Linked DNA regions of Homo sapiens: all the other regions are linked to region 3. Evidence: promoter capture Hi-C in human tissues and cell types (Jung and others, 2019). All regions are on one chromosome and are shown on one strand. The core of a region is centred on a gene start or on the middle of the fragment in contact, and the rest is flanking DNA. Distances in the headings are between cores, read along the strand shown.

The links. Contacts are between HindIII fragments. The study calls those that stand out against the background at their distance.
Region 1: a fragment that was not itself captured here is called in contact with the fragment with the promoter of NAP1L5 in region 3 in 1 of the 25 tissues and cell types used here (pancreas).
Region 2: a fragment that was not itself captured here is called in contact with the fragment with the promoter of NAP1L5 in region 3 in 1 of the 25 tissues and cell types used here (mesenchymal stem cells).
Region 4: a contact is called between a fragment that was not itself captured here and the fragment with the promoter of NAP1L5 in region 3, in 2 of the 25 tissues and cell types used here (IMR-90 fibroblasts and dorsolateral prefrontal cortex).

What each region holds. Positions count from the first base shown.
Region 1 is chr4:88,953,745-88,959,356 of GRCh38, forward strand. All of the region lies in intron 4 of FAM13A (family with sequence similarity 13 member A), which reads right to left. LOC105377327 (a long non-coding RNA gene) reads left to right here. Exons shown (of 4, transcript XR_938977.3): 4 at 3,651-5,612. Among named protein-coding and RNA genes, the nearest start is that of FAM13A, 100 kb to the right of the region's middle. The HindIII fragment of the contact is 3,831 bases long and covers 2,074-5,612 here.
Region 2 is chr4:88,981,180-88,987,027 of GRCh38, forward strand. The region is part of intron 4 of FAM13A (family with sequence similarity 13 member A); the gene reads right to left. Among named protein-coding and RNA genes, the nearest start is that of FAM13A, 73 kb to the right of the region's middle. The HindIII fragment of the contact is 4,885 bases long and covers 1-4,268 here.
Region 3 is chr4:88,693,654-88,699,282 of GRCh38, forward strand. NAP1L5 (nucleosome assembly protein 1 like 5) reads right to left here and starts at 4,176. Exons shown (of 1, transcript NM_153757.4): 1 at 2,260-4,176. The coding sequence starts at 4,101. The coding sequence ends at 3,553. All of the region lies in intron 23 of HERC3 (HECT and RLD domain containing E3 ubiquitin protein ligase 3), which reads left to right. RefSeq lists an enhancer at 4,266-4,325. The HindIII fragment of the contact is 8,909 bases long and covers 1-5,629 here.
Region 4 is chr4:89,096,607-89,102,664 of GRCh38, forward strand. No RefSeq gene overlaps it. Among named protein-coding and RNA genes, the nearest start is that of TIGD2, 12 kb to the right of the region's middle. RefSeq lists enhancers at 4,666-4,905, 5,016-5,165. The HindIII fragment of the contact is 6,274 bases long and covers 1-5,583 here.

The DNA.
Region 1 (5,612 bases), core at 2,739-5,238, 260 kb after region 3:
TTATTTCACTGAGCATAACATCCCAAGGCTCATCCATTTCCTTCCTTTGTATGGCTGAAAAATATTCTATTGTATGTATATACCTAATTTGTTTGTCTATTCATTCACTGATGGACATTTGGGTTGCTTCCACCTCTTGACTGTTGTGTCTTACCTCTTCTTGTACGTATTTTTAAAAAGCAATCAGGTGCTTAAATAACAGGACAAGAAACAACAGAATAAGAACAATGCAAAAATTCTGGTCAGCCTCTACCCAAACCAAAATGAGCCAAAGTGTTTGGAAATGATAAACATTTAGTGAGTATGTTTACTTCTGAAAAAAAATAAATTGTTAGACTCCATGAATTCAGTTGGTCTGCTTATAGCTAAGTTAAGGTAGGTCTTGAGATAATCCAAAATAAGACAACCTAATTGGTCTACACATAATATTAATATGAGGTGCTATATACTCCTGTATTCTTCATCCAATGAACATTTTCTTCATTTCAAAAGCTTAATACTTATTAACAAAAGTGAAAATGAATCTGTGATCACAATCTTACTCTGCTCTTTAAAGCAGCCCAGAGATGCATAGGAGAATGCTACTGTCCAAAAAGAGTTAGAATACTTTTCTCTGCAGTAAACTGCCATCTATCCATCCATAAATCCGTCCTTTCATCTATCAATCAACCAAAGTGTTAGAGGCTAGGCTAGTCAATGACACTTCTAAGATGCGTAAACCAGATTCTTGCCCTAAAAAGTTTACAAATAAGGTCAAGGGAGGAGCCAGAAAGAGGATAAATGTTAACAGGCTTAAACACCTATACAAAAAATAATAGGAATACAAAACAGAAATATGTTCAAAATGCTATGAGAATGGCCAGGAGTGCTGGCTCATGCCTGTAATCCCAGCACTTTGGGAGGCCCAAGGTGGGCAGATTGCCTGAGCTCAGGAGTTCGTCACCAGCCTGGGCAACACGGCAAAAACCTCGTCTCTACTTAAAATTCAAAAATTAGCCAGGTATGGTGGTGCGCGCCTATAATCACAGCTACTCAGGAGGCTGAGGCAGGAGAACCGCTTGAACCCAGGAGGCAGAGGTTGCAGTGAGCAGAGATTGTGCCACTGTACTCCAGCCTGGGCGACAGAGCAAGACTTCGTCTCAAAAAAAAAAAAAAAGAAAAAATGTTATGAGAACTCCAAGAAAAGTAGTTGTTGCTTGTTATTCCCACCACCAGCATTTCCCTCTTTTCTGGTTATTGTCTTGATTCTAATCCCATCAGGATATTACTCTGTCAGGTCAAGTCAGGGCAGTTAAAGAAACTCCATAGAGCTTCCTTCATACCTCACCGTTTTATAACTCTCACAAATATTTTCTTAAGATTGAATGTACTTTTAATGGCTAGAACTAACCATATTATAGTTAGAATGTGTTTTTATTATGCTTAGAATTGTTTTCAGAATGTAGAATTACGTATTAATTAGAATTAAATATCATTATATTTATTTATTATATTGTTATATTTCCCTTCAGTTTTGATAACAACAGAGCACCAGGGAAAAGACCTCTATTAACCTCAAATTAAATTCAGAAAACCAATATAATCTACTGAATACACATAGTCTGCCATGATTGTAAGTTTCCTGAGGCCTCCCCAGCCATGTTGAACTGTGAGTCAATTAAACCTCTTTCCTTTATAAATTACCCAGTCTCGGGTATGTCTTTATTAGCAGCGTGAGAACAAACCAACACAGTAAATTGGTACCGGGTAGTGGAGCGCTGCTGTAAAGATACCCAAAAAATGTGAATGTGACTTTGGAATTGGTAACAGGCAGAGGTTGGAACACTTTGGAGGGCTCAGAGGACAGGAAGATGTAGGAAAATTTGGAACTTCCTAGAGACTTATTGGATGGCTTTGACCAAAATGCTGATAGTGATATGGATAATAAAGTCCAGGCTGAGGTGGTCTCAGATAGAAATGAGGAATTTTGGGGGAAGTGGGACAAAGGTGACTCGTCATGCTTTAGCAAAGAGACTGGCAGCACTTTGCCCTTGCCCTAGAGGTCTGTGGAGCTTTGAACTTGAGAGAGATGGTTTGGAATTGGAACTTATGTTTAAAAGGGAAGCAGAGCATAAAAGTTTGGGAAATTTGCAGCCTGATGATGCAATAGAAAAGAAAAACCCATTTTCTGAGGAGAAATTCAAGCAGGCTGCACAACTTTGCATAAGTAGCAAGGAGCCTAATGTTAATCCCCAAGGAAAAAAAAATTTAAACATTTATAAGGTAAACTAGTTACAGTAAGTTAAGGTTAATTTATTATGGGAGAAAGAATTGTTTAAAATATATTTAGTATAGCCTAAGTGTACCATCTTTTTAAAGTCTACAGTAGTGTACAGTAATGTCCTACGCCTTCCCTTTTACTCACCACTCACTCATTGACTCACTCAGAGCAACTTCCAGTTCTGAAAGCTCCATTCAGGATAGATGCCTGACGTAGGTGTACCTTTTTAAAATCTGTTATATCACATTTTTCTGTACTTTTGTTAGTTTAGATATGTTCAGATAAACAAATACCATTGTACTACAATTGCCTACAGTATTCAGTACAGTAACATGCTGCACATGTTTGCAGACTAGCAGCAATAGACTATATCATATAGCCTAGGTGTGGGGTAGGTTATACCTCTCGGTTAATATAAGTATACTCTGTGATGCTCACGCATGTACGAAATTGTCTAATGACGCATTTCTCAACATGACTGTATACTTCAATAAAGCTATTATTTAAAAAAAGATGAAGAAACACCAAAGAACTTAAGGAATTTATCCAAGGTCACTATACTAGATTTCTATTACTGATATAACAAATTACCACAAACTTAGTGGCTTAAAACAACACACATTTATTATCTTGGAGTTCTAGAGGCCAGAAGTCCAAAGTAGGTCTCAGTAGGCCAAAAAAGTAGGTCTTAACAGGGGTCAGGTCCTTCCTAGGGGAGAATCTGTTACCCTCACTTTCTAGCTTCTAGAGATCTCCTGCATTCCTTAGCTTGTGGCCTCCTCTCACAACACACCTTCTTATCTGACTCTCCGGCCACCTATAATGGCCCTTGTGATTATATTGAGCTTATAATACAGTTTGGATTGTCCCCGCCCAAATTTCAGGTTGAATTATAACCCCAAATGTTGGAGGTAGGACCTGGTGGGAGGTGTTTGGATCATGAGAACAGTTCCCTCTTGAATGGCTTGAGCTATCCCCAGGGTGATGAGTGAGTTCTCATTCTGAGTTCACATGAAATCTAGTTATTTAAAAGTGTGTGGGTCGGGTGCAGTGGCTCACGCCTGTAATCCCAGAACTTTGAAAGGCTGAGGTGGGCAGATTGCCTGAGGTCAGGAGTTGGAGACCAGCCTGGCTAACATGGTGAAATGCCATCTCTACTGAAAATATGAAAATTAGCTGGGCATGGAGGCACATGCCGGCAGTCCCATCTACTAGGGAGGCTGAGGCAGGAGAATCACTTCAACCTGGGAGGTGGAGGTTGCAGTGAGCTGAGGAGATTGCACCACTGCACTCCAGCCTGCATGACAGAGCGAGACTCTGTCTCAAAAAAAAAAAGTGTGTGGCACCTCCCTCCCACCCCACATCTCTCACTTGCCTCTGCTTTCTCCAGGTAAGCTTCCTGAGGCTTCCCTAGAAGCTGACCTGATGCCAGCACCATATTTCCTATAGAACTTGCAGAATGATGAGCCAATTAGACCTCTTTTCTTCATAAATTACCGAGTCTCGGATATTTCTTTATAGCAATGCAAGAACAGCCTAACATAGAAAATTGGTACCAAGGATGGGCATTGCTCTAAAGACACCTGAAAATGTGGAAGTGACTTTGGAACTGGGTAACAGGCAGAGGTTGGAAGAGTTTGGAGGACACAGAAGAAGATAGGAAGACAAGGAAATGTATGGAACTTCTTAGAGATTTGTTAAGTGGTTGTGACCAAAATGCTGACAGAAATATGGACGTTGAAGGTCAGGGAAATGAGATCTCAGATGGAAATGAGGAACTTACTGAGAACTGGAGTAAAGGTCACCCATGTTATGCGTTAGCAAGGAACTTGGCTGCACTCTGCTCATGCTTTAGGGAATTTGTGGAAGTTTGAACTTTAGAGTGAAGATTTAGGGTATCTGGTGGAAGAAATTTCTAAGCAGCAAAGTGTTCAAAATGTGGCTTATTTCTAACAACCTATGCTCAGATGTGAGAGCAAAGAAATGACTAAAAGTTGGATTTATATTTAAAAGGGAAGCAGAGCATAAAGTTTGGAAAATGTGCAGCCTGGCCAAGCGTCAGAGGGAAAAAAAAAAAGCTTTTTCAGGAGAAGAATTCAAGCAGGCTTTGGAGCAACCACTTGCTAGAGAAATTTGCGTGACTAAAAGGAGCCAAGAGCTAATAGCCGATACAATGAGCAAAAGGCCTCAAGGGCACTTCAGAGATCTGCTTGGCAGCCCCTCCCATCACAGGCCCAGAGGCCTAGGAAAAAAGAATGGTTTCCTGGGCCATGTCCAGGGCCCTGCTACCCTGCACCGCTTCAGGACACTGCTGCCTGCATCTCAGCCACTCCAGCTCCAGCTCCAGCTCCACCCCTGGCTCAAAGGGGCCCAGGTACAGCTTGAGCTGATACTTTGGAGCCTCTCACTGCTCACTGCATCTCAGCCACTGCAGCTCCAGCTCCAGCCATAGCTCAAAGGAGCCCAGGTATAGCTTGAGTTGACACTTTAGAGAATGCAAGCTGTAAGTCTTGGTGGCTTCTATGTGGTGTTAAGCCTGCAGGTGCACAGAATACAAGAGTTAAGGAGGTCTGGCAGCCTCTGCCTAGATGTCAGAGGATGCATGAGAAAGCCTGGTTGTCCAGGCAGAAGCCCGCTGCAGGGGTTGAGCCCTCAGAGAGAACTTCTACTAGGACAGTGTGGAGGGGAAACGTGGAGTTGGAGCCCCCCGACAGAGTCCCCACTAGGGCACTGTCTAGTGCAGCTGTGGGAAGAGGGCTACCACTCTCCAGATCCCAGAATGGTAAATCCAGTGGCAGCTTGCAACCTCAAGGCAGAAAAGCCACAGATGCTCAACATCCTGTAAGTTTAGCCATGGGGGCTGTACCCTGCAAAGCCAAAAGGGTAGGGCTGCCCAAGGCCTTAGGATCCCACCTCTTGCATGAGTGTGCCCTGGATGTGGGACATGAAGTCAAAGGAGATTATTTTGGAACTTTACAATTTAATGACTGCCCTGCTGCATTTCACACTTGCTTTTGGTTGATTTTTCCCATTTAGAATGGTAGTGTTTACCTAATGCATATACCCCATTGTATCTTGAAATTAAATAACTTGTTTTTGATTTTACAAGCTCATAAGTGAAAGGGACATGCCTTGTCTCAGATGAGATTTTGGACTTTTGAGTTAATGTTGAAATGAGTTAAGACTTTGGGGGAATTATTGGGAAGGCATGATTGTATTCTGCAATGTGAAAAGGACATGAGATTTGGGAGGGGCCGGGGCAGAATGATATAGTTTGAATATTTGTCCCCACCCAAATCTCATATTGAAATGTAATCTCCAGTGTTGGTAGTGGGGCTTGGTGGGAAGTGTT
Region 2 (5,848 bases), core at 576-3,075, 290 kb after region 3:
AAAATTTGACCAAAATGACTTACTCATCAGTAGCAATAGCAAATTTAATTATTAGAAATTAAAGACATACATGTTATCAAATTGTACAAACTAAGTGTGCACAATGAGTTTAATGCAAAGTGCCAAGAATACTAACAGACAAACAAAAAACCCAGAACCAAAAGCCGAGGCTTTGGTCCGTGCATCAATATCACTTAATCAGATTTTTAAATACACTCTAAACAACGGCAAATAAAAAATATTTAGGTATTTCTAATATAATGAATCTCATGCATACCCAATGTTATCCTTAAATATTCTTAAAGTATAAAATCTCTCACCTAATCTTAAGAAAATAGATTTTCCTAATGTATTAGAACTGTCTGCTACATCACTAGGTACACAGTGCCTTAGAGCAGATCCTCAAGAAACCCAAAGAAAACAAGGCAATGATGAGGATGTTGGTGTATTATTTTGACAGCAGGGATACCAGGCAGGGTGGGTGAGAAAAGGAGGCAAGCAGGGATATGAAATAATGTAAAGTATGCATAGCTCTTTCACAAAGAACTACAAAGACACATAACAGTTTGCTCGACAGATGCTTTGCTTGGCAGTCTGGAATTCCCCAGATAAGCTGCAAGGAGAAGCCATGGGATGAAGAAATGTGTTCCATGGGAAGAACAAAAAAAGTCCATGTCTCTTCCTGACTCTTATTTAACTGTTCTAGATTTCCAGGTTGCCATATCCCATGCCTCTGATACCCTATCAGGAATTAAGATCCGAGTCTAGGGTTCAAAAGTGATGGCAGAAGCCAGAAACTCTGAGCAGGTGGCTTGTTGACCCAGCTATAAGGCAGAAGCCAAGAAGAAGAATCTAGCATTCCCAAGGCAGGAGAAAGGTCCAAGCCTGGTGGAAGCAGATTGGTCTGAGAGGCGGGTAGAGCCAAGGCAATCTGAGGAGGTCAGAAGGTGTCTGATACAAGTACTAAGTTGAAGAAGTTGGCTTGTGTTGAGAAATTTTACTGGGTAAGAACATTTTCTATTCCATTAAATATTAACAAGCATACTCAATACTGTAAGAAGCTTGTTCTAAGTGAGAACTATGACAACTGAGGTTAAGAGCAATGTCATGTCTTCCATCTCATGTTTCTAAAGAGCCCAGTTCATTAACTAGTACGATGGGCAGAGCCCATAAAACCTGATCTTTCCCTTAATGCAATTTTAAATGTATTTAATTAAATGCACATGGATTCTAACTCTGCCAATTGCTTACAATGTATGAGGACTTTCTCTTACAGTCTCACTTAAATTTCAAAGCAAACTCTGTGGGTCCTGTTTTACAAAAATTTAACAGGAAAATAATGCAGGCCAAATCTACCTGCATTAGTAGAATAAGGACTACTAATGGGCAGAATAAGAACTAGACTAACTTCCTTTTATACGTCATGCTATCCAAACCACTGAAAATCCAATACTCATTTTAATAACTATCAAAACTTACAGAAGCAATTCCTGCTAATTTCTAAGAATGATAAAGTATTCAGAGGACTTTTGCCTTAGAAACTGGGATATTGGGGATTTCCTTAGAAAAATCATATACAACATATATAGCTCACAGTCCAAGGTTTAATGAATTTTTAAAAGAAAATATTTATGTAGTGACTCTGTGAGGTGATGCCCAGGTGTCTCCTTCATGCCAGAAGTATTCATTATCCACCCAATCTCACTCAAAGTGTTGCCTGCTTATGGCTCATGGCTAAGTCCTTCTTCTGAGACTACACAATGTCCCTGGCACAGCTCACCTCCAGTGATTGATGGAAATGGGGTAAGGAGACTAAACCCTTTGACTCAACTAGGGATTTATCTGAAAGGTCATCCCATCTTCTCAGCTCCCCTGGGACTGAGTGAATCCTGTGTTACAACTTGATGGCAGTTCAACTTCTGCCTAATCCTACCTTCCTCTGTTCCTTATAGGTATAAGGAAAGAATGGTTCCAAAAAGTACTACCCAATAAAACTTCTGCTTGAAAACTTAGTCTCAGAGTTATACCTTGGATAACCCAACCTATTATATCAAGTGGTAAAATAATAGTGAAAATGAGGAGACAAAGTAATACTGAGAGGAAAATTAGAGTTTTAAGTGTGATTATGATGGATAAAAGAGACTAAAAATAAACAAAATAAGTATTCAACAAGGAAAAATAAAACCTGAGCACCTAATAGGAAAATGGCAAAAGATACAAACAGGTATATGAGGAAAAAGACAGATGGCCCTTAAACACAAGTAAAAATGTTTAGTTTCATTTATAAGAAAACACATGCAAATTAAAACTATATTGGTATTAGCAATGAGCAATCTGAAAATAAAACTGAGAAAACAATTACATCTAGAATAGCATCTAAAAGAAAAAGATACTTGATAATAGATTTAACAAAATAATTGCAAAACTTGTACCCTGAAAACCATAAAACAGTATTGAAACAAATTAAAGACCTAAGTAAATGGAAAAATATTTCATGCTCACATATTGGGAGATTTAATTTTGCTAAAATGGCAATAGAGTCCTCTCCAAATTGGTCTCCAGATTCAACAGAACATCCTATCAAAATATTGACTAACTTTTTTGTAGAAATTTACAAACTGATCCTAAAATTTGTAGAGAAATACAATGAACCTAGACTAGTCAAAATAATTCTGAAAAGAAGAACAAACTTGGAGTATTGAAACTTCATGATTTTAAAACTCATTAAAAAGCTATAGAATTATCAAAATACTATGGTACTGACATAAGAATAGATATACAGATCAATGGAATATAACTATGAGTTCAGATATAAGCCCCAATAATTGTGGTCAACTTATTTTTGACAAGAGTGCTGAGATAATTCAATGGGGAAAAACAATCTTCAACAAATGATGCTGGGACAACTGGACAGCCACATGCAGAGGAATGAAGTTAGACTCCTTTATACCATTCACAAAAGTTAACTCCAAAATAGCTCCATAGACCTAAACATAACAGTCATAACTAAAAAACTCTTAGAAGATGAATAAATCTTCATGATCTTGGTTAGCCAAAACTTTCTCAGGTACAACACAAAAAGCATAAGTGACAAAAGAAAAAACAGATACATTGCACTCCATCAAAAATAAAAACCTCTGCACTTAAAAGGACATGATCAAGAAAATGAAAAGGCAACTTATAGAATAGAAGAAAATATTTACAAGTCCTGTACCTGATAAGGAATTTATATGCAAAGTATATAAACAACTCTTATAACTCATCAATAAAGACAAATAAATCAACTTAAAAATAGGCAGAAGATCTGAATAAACATTTCTCCAAAAATATACAAATGGCCAATAAGCACATGAAAATATTCAATGTCATTAGTAATCAGGGAAATGCAAATCAAAACCAAAATGAAATAGTGTTTCATACCCACAGGAATGGAATAAAAAAGATATTAACAAGGATGTAGAGAAACTGGTTCGCCCATACATTGCTGATGGGAATGTACATGGCCATGTGTCTTTCTCTTCATATATTTTTGTCTTTTGCCATTTTCCTATTAGGTCCTCAGGTTTTATTTTTCTTTGAATATTTATTTTATATTAGTCTCTTTTTGCATGATAAGCACATCCCATTGCTGATGGGAATATATGAGGGAACAAATGCATGAGGGAATGTAAAATGGTGCAGCCACTTCAGTAAACATTTTGGTAGTTCCTCAAAATTTTAAACAGTTACCATGAGACCCAACAATTCTACTCCTAGTTATATACCCAAGAGAAATGAACACATAATTCTACACATGACATGTACACAAATGTTCACAGCAGCATCATTCGAAATAGCCAGAAACTAGAAGTAACACAAATACCCACCAACTAATGAGTTGATAAACACATCAACTGGTGTGTCTCTACACTGAAATATTATTCTGCCATAAAAGGAATGATGTACTGACACATGCTACAAAATGGATGAGCCTTGAAAACATTTTGCTAAGTGAAAGAGTCCAGTCAGAAAAGAACACATATTGTATGATTACATTTATATGAAATGTCCAGAATAGGCAACTCTCTAGACACAGAAAGTAGATGAGTGGTTGCCTAGAGCCAGGTTGTTGTGGGGAGTGATTGGGAAGAAATGGGAAGTGACTGCTAACAGTACAGCATTTCTTTTGGGGGTGATGAAAATATTCTATAAGTGACCGTGGTGATGGTTACAGAATTCTGTATCTATTCAAAACCAACAAATTATATACTTCACATGGCAAATTGTACGGTATATAAACGGTGTCTCAATAAAACTCTTAAAACTTAAAAAATCCACACTGGGATATCACATCTGACCTATCAGACTGGCAAGACTTCAAAATTTTTGCGAAATCCTCTTGGCAAGACTGAAAAATGGACACTCTTGCATGCTGCTAACAGACATGTAACACTGACTCATCCTCTGTGGAGGGGAATTAGGGCTATCTAATGATATAGAGGCATTTGTTCTTTGACCCAAAAATCTCATATTTAGGAATTAATCTTGGTGATACATATGCACAAGTTTATTTGATGTGGGATCATATCTAACAGTAAAAGATGGGAAACAAACGACCATCAGAAAAGTACCATTGACTAAAACTTACTTTGTCCAAGCAATGAAGTAATACACAAGCACAAAAAAGAATAAAAAAAAAAAAACTGTTGGAATGATCTCTAAGATTTGCAGATAAAAAGCAAAGTGAAGAACAGTGTAAGGAACACATAGAAATAAGAATGCACACATATAGACATCACATAATACACAAAATGTAACTACATATACACACTTATTTTTACCAAAAGAAACATTGAAGGATAAGCCAGAAACTAATAAAAATGTTTTCCAAAGACACCAAGAGGTTGAACAGTATAGAAAGAATAATGATAAAAGGGAAACTTCTGAGTAAACCTCTTTCTCTTTACATAATTTTCACTTTTTTTTTTTTTTTGAGATTGAGTCTCACCCTATCTCCCAGGCTGGAGTGCAGTGGCACAATATCAGCTTACTGCAACCTCCACCTCCCGGGTTCAAGTGACTCTCATGCCTCAGCCTCTCAAGTAGCTGTGATTACAGGCATCTGCCACCACACCTGGCTAATTTTTGTATTTTTAGTAGAGATGTGGTTTCACCATGTTGGCCAGGCTGGTCTTGAACTCCTGACCTCAAGTGATCCGCCTGCCTCAGCCTCCCAAAGTGGTGGGATTACAGGCATGAGCCACCGCGCCCGACCAATTTTCACTTTTAAGCCACGTAAGTGTTATAAAAATTTAAACAAAATTACATTGAAAAGGAAAAGAAGCTCTGCATTCTAAAATTGGAAATGGATTGAAACAAGTGAACTCAACCATATGCCAAATGGCGAAGACAACCACCCTTTACTTTGAATGCATTCTCTTAGCCAGATATAGGACAGTACGGACTGCCCGGATGTCTTAAACATTACTCAGTGGTTTCCCTGATGTTGTGACACTTTATTTATATCTATACATAAAATACACATTTTATTATGTTGTGGAGAAAAGCAAATAAATATTCTTATTTTTTAGGAAGCAAGATTTTCACTGTCAGAGTATAGAGTTACAAATATGAAATCAAAGTTGTTAAGAAAGATTATTATAATGTTAAAATTAAACTCAAAATATCAATATAAATCCATTATTTCTTCCATTCAGTCATTCCATCATTCAAGTATTCATTTCTTTCTTTATTTCCTTGCTCTAGAAGTCATTAAGACCTAGATGCAAATAACTTAGCACCCAGATCTTGGCTTCTAAATGTAATTCTTCTATAGAAGAAACCAAAGCCCCTTGGAGAAATGGTTAAT
Region 3 (5,629 bases), core at 2,926-5,425:
GTGTACATGTGTGTATATGTGTAAATGTGTCTATGTGTATGCATTGAGTGTACATTCTCAGGCAGAGAGAGCTGCCATGCCATTTTTCACAGTAAGCATCGGCATGCCAGTTTTCTGCGTAATACTCAGAGAGTTGGTTGAGTGTGTATTGCATGCTTCCTTTCTTTCTGCCAGTTATTTTGTGCTTTGTTGACTAATTTTGGCCTATAATAGGTTAAAATGGTTTATGAATGATAGTGTTTGACCTACCTTGAAGCAAGGGTATCCTGTTAGATGTTAACATGCAGGTTTTAGGGTTGCCAGAGAAACTATCAAATAAGCAGTCCAGGAAACAATATAAAGATTAGCCCAGTTAGGAAGTGGCAGAAATCGCTTGACGTCACAAACATCCCTGTATCCTTAGAGAAGTGGCCAACAATTCTCTAAGCTAGAAAACCCCACAGCTAAAATCTTATCATAAACAAAAGAAAGATTGCTGGCCAGAGCACATAGCTAGGAACACTTGTCTCTAGACCCTGCCAGAGCCCCGGCTCACCTAGTGCTGCAGGTTCAGGAACACGCAGCATTAGGTGAGTTCTTTCTGCCTCAGGCAGGGTTTGCAGTCTTTCCTCTTTTTAGAGACTCTGCTGATGTCCTTTATGTATTTCTCTAGTAGGACTTAATAATTTTCATATGATTCATAGGAACTCTTCATTATGTTTATGACTATTAACCCTTTGCCATCCATATTTATTGTAGGTTTTATCCTCTGTTTTTGGTTTTGAAAATGTAGAGTGTGTCTTTAACTCTGTGATTTCTTAATTTTTGTGTTGTCATGTGTGTTATTTCTTTTGGTCTTATACCACTCTAATCCTAGCCATTCCCTGTCCAGTAATTGATATTTAATATATTTTCTTCAGTTAGTCTGTAGTCTGAGGTAAAAATCTAAACTGTTTCCAAATTGCTAAAGGTTTTCTTAGCTGTTCTTAAGGTGAACATTATGGTAATTATATTAGGTTCCAGATCCAGTTTGAGTTTTGATTAGAATTGTGATAAAAGTTAATTTGGGAAGAACTGACGTTTTTGTGATATTCAGTCTTACTATCCAAAGGCTTATGTTATGTTTGTTTTTTATTTTTACATAGGTCATACACATTTCTTATTAGAGGTTTTATAAATGTTTTGATTTCTTATTTTTACTCTGAGAGCCTTTCACATATATTTTGATCATTATTAGTGCCTATAAATGGTTATTGGTTTTTGTGTATTTATCTGATAACTGGTCAGTTCATCAAACTTATTAAATTGAATTGTTTTCCAGTTGATTCTCTTGGGTTTTCTATATGTAAAAAACATTTCCCAATACTTATGCCTCTTAGTTGTGTTTCAATCGTTTTTGCTTTTTACTGGAACCAGAAAAATAGTAAAATGATAGTCTCTCTCATTCCTGGATATAAGAAATCAATATTAAATTTTATTAGATTTTTTCTCTATTAAGATAATCATATGATTAAGATAATCAGAACTTTGTATGTAACGTATTATTCTGATTTTCTCTTTTGGTTGGCCTGAGCATAATGAAGATTAACTTTACCTTAAGGTTGTTTGTACTCAACAATCTGTTGTGATTAGCAACAGGTCAGTGCTGCCTTCCATTCCCTAGGATAAAGCAATATAATTTTGCTTCTTTGTAATTTTAACCCTTCAGGGAAAAGGAAGCAAATGGCATCTGATTTTTTAATTTTTCTGGAGTCCAGTTTTTAAAAAAAACTTTCTGCTTCATTCAGAATGAAGCAAACATAAAGTTGAAATAGCCTTTTTTATCCTTTCTGGGAGATGATAAAAACCTGATATTATATTGAGGAAACCAAAACAAGATAGTTTATTTAATTTCCTGCATTTCTGAATTAAAGGCCACATTCTTCTCTCATAATAAGGAATCAAAAACATAGGGAGGGATGTAGTGATGTCTCTTTCTCCCATTTTGTAACAGGAGAGGAGGATTGAATTTCCAATCACTGTCTTTATCTTTCATGTAATAATAATAGCTAAGAATTATTCAGCACTTACCATGGTTTGGATGCTATTCTATAGGATTTATATGTATTAATCCATTTGCTCTTCATAGTAACCCATGAGGAAGGGACTATTCCTATTCCCTTTTGTAGATGAGGAGAAACTGGCCACTGAGAGTATTAGCTGAGTTGCCTAAGGTACATTACTAATAGGAGGCAGAGCTGGGATTTGAATGCAGGCAGTCACAGTACCGAGTCTTTTATATATATTTTTTGAAAATACTGTTTTATTAACACCACAGTGATAAACAACTTTAAGCTTATGTTTCTTTATAGATCACTGGCTCACACATAATTCAAAACCCACACAGAAGCTAAGAGTCTTTACATTAAATATATTCTTCCTAAAAATCCTTACTGTATGCATCTGTCCTCAAGCAGTAAAATTTGATTATGCACCATTTTATAATTAATATGTCACATTTACATAGCAAAATAATGAAGGCACAGCTAATACAAGCAAACTTAAACCCTTTCTACTTCTGAGCTGGGGGTAGGGGCACACACTTGGATTGGTTCTTCAAGTATATATTTTTTCCAAACATTAGCTTCAGTGAAGAGTTCTGATGATTTTCACAGCTACACCCTAAAAGCTACATGACAGAAAGACGTCACAAGGCGCAAAGTACATAACGCTGGATACACATGCTTTACATAATTTGCTACATTCTACATCTCTTCAAGTAAATTAATATTTCTAAAACGCTAGGTAAAGTGATTTAATACTTAAACATATTTGGGGTATTTTTTACGTGTTTGTAAATAGACAGTACTAAGAAAACACAAACATGAGATTGTAACTAATGAATACATATGTTGACAGTATTTTACAGGTTTTACACCCTCCTTCTTGGAACCATGTTGTTTCTCTAAATTCAAATACTCAAAACATTTTTCAGAACTTGAAATGGCAGTTTTCCTGGCCTTATTAACAGTAGTGTCATGATCTCCATTGCAATCTTCCTCAATGCCATCAATCTCCTGTGAAGTGTAAAGCTGATGTCTGCGTTACAAAAGCAAAGTCTCAAAGATGACGTTTTTCTTGGGTTCTGCCTTCTCTGCACTGCGAAATGTCATGAGTAAAGAAATTTAAGAATTAAGCACTGAGAACGTGTTCAGTCATGGCTTGGGTGTTCCATGTGTAGCGTATGCTGTGTGATGAATGGGTTTCAAAGTGACGTTCTTTACTTCGCATCTGCTAACACCCTTTGTAAACCTCAATCCTCAGAGAAGAGACCATGAAAACATAATTTTGGGTTTAATTCAGTTTTCTTTAACACCTTTTGATATATTTATTATGTTCAAAATGAAAGTCAAATTTGAATCGAGCTGGCCAGGATCTAATTGCTTTAATTTAATCTATTTTAGGAATGTCAGAATAAATTCACATTGTATTTTGGTCAAAAACCTGAGCCTTTTTAAGTCCATCGATATTCTGGGAAAAACAAAACCAGGCTTTTTTCTTCGTGGGCTTTCTCTTCATCCATCTCTGCCCCCCTTACTTCTTGGCGTCATCAGGCATCTCGGCGTGGGCATCGTCATGTTTGGCCCCCGCGGCAGCCTCTGCCGCAGCCTCCTCCTCCTCCTCGTCTTCCCCCTCCTCCTCGTCATCCTCGTACTCCTCTTCCTCCTCCTCCTCCCCCTCCAAGGTCCATGCACACCCCTCCATCTCGCCGGTGAGCTCTTGGATCTTGGCGAGTAGGGGCTTATAGATGTCATTATACTTTTTTTCCAGAGCCTGAAATTCCTTATCAAATTTGGCTTCTATCTTATCGCATCGCTTCTGCAGCTTTTTGAGGGCCAGGACTCGGCATTTCACCGAATTAGGCAGGCTCTCGATAAAGTCATTTTTCGGCTTTGGGGCATTCTCTGCAGGGGTCTGGGGCTCCTCAGCCATCTGACCAGCCGCGCTGTCAGGGTCACCAGCCGCGCTGTCACAGTCTCCACCCTGCGCACCGCCTTCCGCCATTACCTCCTCTGCCGCTGCCTCCGCCGCTGCCGCCGCCTGGCTAGGCTCCGCAGGCCCCTGGTTTTCCGAGTCGGCCATGTTAGAGGAGAAGCCGCAGAGGTCTAGGAGGGCTCCCGCAGAGGCCCTGCACCCGAGCTGGTCCAGAGAGATCTTGCGGATGCGGCAAGTGGCGGTGACGTGCGGCCGCGGGAATGACGTTGGCCGCGGCCCCGCCTCCTGCTTTCGCGGCACTTGACTGGCTTCCCACTATCAGCTGACGGCCGTGTGCTCATACTGCACCAGATTCCTCCTGTTGCTACCCTGACATCTTCTGGGCCCTCAACACCCGCCTGTTGGACAGACACCCTGTTCCCAGCCCACCCATGTACCCACCCCTGTAGAGCTGGGCTGGGAGTGTCAGTAGCTGCCCGAGGTGCTTCTTCAGGAACTGCATAGATGGCCTCAGACCATTTTCCGTGTGCTCCTCACCCCCATCCAGGCCCTTCTACAAATGCCAGTGCATATGTCTTCGCTTTCCTCTGCATCTCTCTCCATAGCTGGCGTTTGATCACCTCTTAGATTCCTCCGCATTCCTCTCCATGCAGTGGAGGAACGGGCAAGCTGGCTCCATTCCACCCCTTTGGGGACCTGGGGTGCATGTGTGTGGATAGGGCAGCTTGCATATCCAAGCTCTGTACCTATGTGTCCACCCAACACCCCCTTGGCCATCCCACACACCTAGCGGCATATATCTTGGTGGCAAGGTCGTCTCTCAGCAGGACTCCCCTGGAAGCAGTTTTGGAGCCATTTGGGTAGGAAATCTCAGAGCTCCCGGTGTCCTGGTGTGTGTTCTAGAAGATCCTACAGAATCTTTGGCCTGTGGGAAGGACTAAAGCTTGAGGAGGGCTGAAAAAAAGCAAGTCTTTCTAAAGCATGGGGCCCAGGGCCAAGGCCCCCTCTTATCTTGGTTAAAGCATGTGCCATCTATCCCACCCCGCTCACATTCGTCTTCCCTGCCTTCCCCCAACACCGTCTGCTTCCCTGCCTTCCCCACTATCTGTTTTCACACCTTTCCACACCACATCTTCTCCCTCCCTCCTGCCCCTCCCCCGCACTGACTTATGCCCCACCTTCTGCCCATCTTCTTCCCCGCCTTCTTCCCCACTCACTGCCTCCTTCCTCACCTTCCCCCCGCCGCACTGTCCTTTTCCCCACCTTCCTCACCCTCTTCTTCCCCACCCTCCTTACCCTCTTCTTCCCCACCTTCCTCACCCTCCTCACCCCCTTCTTCCTCACCCACTGCCTTCTTCCTCACCTTCCCCCCACCGAACTTTTTCCTCACGCTCCTCACCCTCTTCTTCCTCACCCTCTTCACCCTCTTCTTCCTCACGCTCCTCACCCTCTTCTTCCTCACCCTCTTCACCCTCTTCTTCCTCACGCTCCTCACCCTCTTCTTCCTCACCCTCTTCACCCTCTTCTTCCTCACGCTCCTCACCCTCTTCTTCCTCACCCTCTTCACCCTCTTCTTCCTCACGCTCCTCACCCTCTTCTTCCTCACCCTCTTCACCCTCTTCTTCCCCACCCCCTAGCCCCACCCTCTTCCCACCCACCCCCAGCCCCGCCTTCT
Region 4 (6,058 bases), core at 1,197-3,696, 400 kb after region 3:
TCTGCCAAAAACACAGTATATGTAATATGCTGTGATTCAGGATTAAAACACAGGCAGAAAATGTGCATCTGTTTTGGATTAATGAGAATTTTCAACAGACAATATTCAGGTAGTTTTGTGAACCCCCTTTTAATTACAACTCTCCTCTCTCTCTCTCCATATATATATATATATATATGATGGAATATACATATATATGATGGACAATACATATATATGGTGGAATACATATATATGATGGAATATATATATGATGGTATATATATGATGGAATATATATATATGATGGAATATATATATATGATGGAATATATATATATGATGGAATATATATATATGATGGAATATATATATATGATGGAATATATATATATGATGGAATATATATATATGATGGAATATATATATATGATGGAATATATATATATGATGGAATATATATATATGATGGAATATATATATATGATGGAATATATATATATGATGGAATATATATATATGATGGAATATATATATATGATGGAATATATATATATGATGGAATATATATATATGATGGAATATATATATATGATGGAATATATATATATGATGGAATATATATATGATGGAATATATATATGATGGAATATATATATATGATGGAATATATATATATGATGGAATATATATATATGATGGAATATATATATATGATGGAATATATATATATATGATGGAATATATATATATTCCATTCTTGCAAATAGTCTACAATTCATCATGGGTATATAAATTAATCTGACATTTCTCACTGTAGTTGGCTTTTAGCTATCTATATCTCTTTTCAAAGCCTCCTTAGGAGCTTAAGAAAATGTGAGTACTTCCTTCAGGTTGGAAGATCTAGGAAATAATAAAATCATAGCTAGTATTAGTGCTTATTATGTGTTGGACACTCTGCAAAACAATGTATACATACCATTTCAGTTCATTCTTCAAAAACAAAAAAAAAATCAGTATGATCTTTATTCCCATTTTCCATAAGTGAAAGATTTTATATAGCCAGCCCAAAGTTCCATAGGTGGTAGGTGGCAGTCAGAAGTACAAACCAAAGACTGTTTCAGGAACCATAAGCTTTATCACTAAGATGCACTGCCTGTCAAGTCTCTTAATTTTAGTTTACGCTACATGTTTCCAAACAATGGTCAAGATAATTATAATATAAAAAGAGACTCACCATTAAAACATACTTAAAATAGAACTTAATGGATAGGAGAAGAAAAGTGGTAAGAATTCAAGGTGAATTAATAGAGCAAGTAAACACAAAATAAAGCATACAGATTTATAGAAGTCAATGTTAAAATGGACATATCTAGTTCTTGTGTCAGACAAAAGAAGTCAAATTTCATCTGGTCATATTTTTTCATTAAATATAGCCAGACTTTATCAAATAAATCCTGAAATAAAATGATAGAGTACATCATGAGCAGTATGTTCAACATCAGTTGGGCTAAATACAGAGATAATTCTCAAAAGTTTATTTCTTATGCTTCCCCTCTAAGAAAGCCAATAGGGAAACAGTAAATTGCAACATTTAACATAGAACTATTACAACCCAAATAAAAACCAGGTAAAGGACCTGAAGAGACATTTCTCCAAAAAAAGACATGCATATGGTCAATAAGCACATGACATGAAGCTCAATATAATTAGCCACCAGGGAAATGCAAATCAAAACCACAGTGAGATACTACTTCACACCCACTGGGATGGTTATAATAAAAAAGACAGATAATAACAAGTATTGGTGAGAATGTGGAGAATTTGGAAGCCTCATACATTTTTTGTAAAATAATCTAGCTGCTTTAGAAAATATTTCCTTAGGAGATTAAACAGACAGTTACCATATGATCAAGCAATTTTAGTCATAGTTATATACCCAAGAGAAATGAAGACATATGTCCACACAAAAACTGGTACATGAATGTTCATAGACAAACAGCAGAAACCAAGCAACTGATGAAGGAATACATAAAATGTGATCTATCCATATAGTGGAATATTATTCAGCAGTAAAAGAAAATGATATACTGATACATGCTATAAAATGATGAACCTTGAAAACATGCTAAATGAAGGACACATATTATATGATTCCGTTTATATAAAATAACTAAAATAGAGACATAAAGTAGGTTAGTGGTTGTCAAGAGCAGAAGGGAGTGTTGGGGACAATGGGGTATTACTGCTAATGGTACAGGATTTGTATAAGTGAAGAAAAGTTGAGAAACCTGTCTAAAATTGATTGGAGTTTAAGAAACACTATCATGAAGCATTGAAGGGATTATTTGGATGGACAAGCATTCAAGCCAGGTGTTAATATAGTTATGGGTCACATAATGACATTTCAGTCAATGACAGACTGAGTATATGATGGTGGTCCCATAAGATTATAATATCATATTTTCACTGTACTTTTTCTACGTTTAGATATATTTAGACACACAACTAGTTAACATTGTGTTACAACTGCCTACAGGATTTGTACAGTACAGTAGAGTTCACAGCCCAGAGGCAACAAATTATACCATATAACTTAGGTATGTGGTAGGCTATACCATCTAGGTTTGTATGAGTACACTCTATGACATTCACACAATGATGCAATTGCCTAAAAACACATTTCTCTGAACACATCCCCATCATTAAGCAATAGATGACTGTAATTGTCTTTTTCAAGCATAAGAGAATCTCACGAAGGTAGAATTATGTCCTGATACATCTAATCAAATGAATTAGGAATAGCTGTAAGCCTAAATGAGTTCAAGGATTATTAAATTTTTTTGGATCATGAATCCTTTGAGAATGTGTTGAATGCTATGAACAAGGTAGGCATGGTATTTACCCTATGAAACCTAAATAATTTTGTGGAAATCAACATCAGAGGAGGACCTGCCATGACTGTGGTGAAACAAGACAAAAACAAGATCACCTCATAATCTTGCTTGAATAGAAATTTAACAAGGGGATGGGGGAAAAATACTGTGTAACCACAAAAATAACCAAACATCCTGCTCTCCTGGATAACTTCTCTAGTGACAGCTCTGGCCTCTCTCTCTTCCTCTAGCTTCCTAGATAAAAATTTGTAATATACCCAATACCCAAATTGCTTCTGCTTTCTGACAACACCCAGTTGAGAACAGATTCTTTCTTGAACCTTCCCTAAAATCACCTTAGCTAAGCCCAAATCCTACAATAAGCCTCTCTTGACTCCCTCTTAATGCGATACCCATTGTTTTCCAAGGTATGACTCTCCCTTGCTAGAGTAGTAAGCCTAGTTTTGGTTACAAGTGTGTTCTTGGTGGTATTTGGCTAATGAGAATCACAATATAAGATTTATAATACATTACTGCAAAAAGCACGTATAAAAGTACATATATATAAAGGGCCAAGCACAGTGAATCAGCTCTGAAATCCCAGCACTTTGGGAGGCCAAGGTGGGAGGGCTGCTTGAGGCCAGGAGTTCGAGACCAGCCTGGGCAACAAAGCAAGAGCCTATCTGTACAAAAAATAAAAATTAGCTTGGTCTGGTGGTGCATGCCTCTAGTCCTAGCTACTCGGGAGGCTAAGGTGGGACTATAGGATAGTTAAATTGATATAGGAAAGGTAATGGAGGCTGGGCATGGTGGCTCATGCCGGTAATCTCAGCACTTTGGGAGAGCAAGGCAGGTGGATCACCTGAGGTCAGGAGTTCGAGACCAGCCTGACCAACATGGTGAAATCCCATCTCTACTAAAAACACAAAAATTACCTGAGCATGGTGGCGGACGCCTGTAATCCCAACTACTCAGGAGGCTGAGGCAGGAGAATCACTTGAAGCTGGGAGGCAGAGTTTGCAGTGAGCCGAGATCACACCACTGCACTCCAGCCTGGGCAACAAGGACGAAACTCTGTCTCAAATAAACGAAAGTAATGGATATACAGTAAAATGTTAAGAATAGTTATCTCTATATGTTGGCATTATTATTTTCCTTTTTGCTTCTCTGTATCTTATCTTGTTCTTCAAAGACTGTGTACAATTTAATAAGAAGAAAAAAGAGGAGGAAGAAAAACTCCCTTCCAAAAGAATATGTTATAAGGGAGGAATTTTATATTCAAACAGTTGTTAACCATAAAAGGTTTTCAAACTTTGGTGTAATAGAATCACACGGGATGATCACTGAAAATAAAGATTCCTGGGCTTCATCCCCAGTGTGAGCCCAGGAAATCTATATATTGGACTCCAGGTGATTCCAACCCACAGGGTTTGAAGAGCAACCTTGATAAATGTGGCTTTGGGGACAAAGTAGGACTTGGAAGGACGTACGGATGTACAGAGGAAGAAGAAAGCTTCCCAGACTAAAGGGGAAGCATGAAAAGCTCAAAATTATGAAGCTGCATGTGCTGAGGAGAGGGAGAATGAGTGGTGTGACGCACAATGGGCTCTCAGTTAACCTGACCTTACCAACCTGGGACAGAATTGAGGGCTCCTCTAAAGAATGTTGGAAATTGGGCAGGCTTGGAAAGGTAAGCAGGGTATATAATTTTCATTCACATTTCCTACTCATATTTCTCATACCAATCAGCCAATTCACTGGTTTCTTCAATTTACATCTAAGTGATTTTCAGGAAACGAGTCTAACTTTTCTTTAAGCATCGCCACCAATAATTTTCACTTCTTTTTTAAACCCCACTAAATCTTTTCTACCCTCCTGGGAACTCATTCTCTTACCTTTGCCTATGCTCCCAGCCATCTGAAAACCTACCATCCACCAGCCAACCAAGAAACAAAGAAAACAAAACAAAGTTTAAAAGTTCCCCACTGGGCATCTACATGACTCAAGAGTCTCAGAACTCACTATCTTTCAGTATTGTAACTTACCAACTTCTTAAAAATGATCTGGGATTTTCCAGTGAGTAATCAGAACTTTCACTTGTGTCTAGACACTTTCAAGTGGAGAAGTGTCCCTACCTTTATGCAAAAGGATATCTTTTTCTATTTATATTTTTTATATATATTTTCTAATTAAGGTTCGTCTATAATATGAAGTAAAATAATGTTTGAGCTGAAAGAGATGTCAAAGGAAAAGCTTTCATTTTACTGATGAGAACCGTTTCACATCCTGTTTTCCCTAACATGGGGTTCCCCAACACCCAGGCTACAGACCAGTGTGGTCCGGTTGGTGGCCTGTCAGGAACTGGGCCGCACAGCAGGAGGTGAGTGGCAGATGGGCAAGTATTATGGCCTGAGCTCCACCTCCTTTCATATGAGCAGCAGCATTAGATTCTCACAGAAGCTCGAACCCTATTGTGAACTGCGCATGCGAGGGATCTAGTTGTATGCTCCTTACGAGAATCTAATGCCTGATGATCTAAGGTGGAACAGTTTCATCTTGAAAGCATCCGCCACCTCCTCCATTGTGGAAAGTTTGTCCTCCATGAAACCAGTCCTTGGTGCCAAAAAGGTTGGGGACCACTGCCCTAACAGACCCATATCCCCCTGCATACTTCAAAAGAGGAATAAATTATATTTTATCTGGAAAATTCCCCTCAATATTTTATGTCCCTTAAGGTAGGTGACAGTAAATGGTTTTTGTGCAAACCACTGATTTATTATTGGCACTAAATAATTAAGTTACTAAAGGCAAATACTATTCTATATTAAATAAGTTTATTACACATAGAATAATAGCATTGTGATAAAAAAAAATTCATGTTTTTTTTTTTTTTTTTTTTTTTGAGGCAGGGTGTCACTTTGTCACCCAGCCTGGAATATGGTGGCATGAACACGGCTCACTGCAGCCTAGACTTCCTGGGCTCAAGCAATCCTCCCACCTCAGCACCCCCCAGCAGCTCGACTACAAGCATGTACTACCACACCTGGCTAATTTTTGTATTTTTTGTAGAGGCGGGGCTTCACCTCTTGTTGCCCAGACCAGTCTGATATTCCTGAGCTCAAGTGATCTGCCCGCCTTGGCCTCCCAAAGTGCTGGGATTACAGGCATGAGCCACCACGTCTGGCCCATGTCCTCATCTTAAG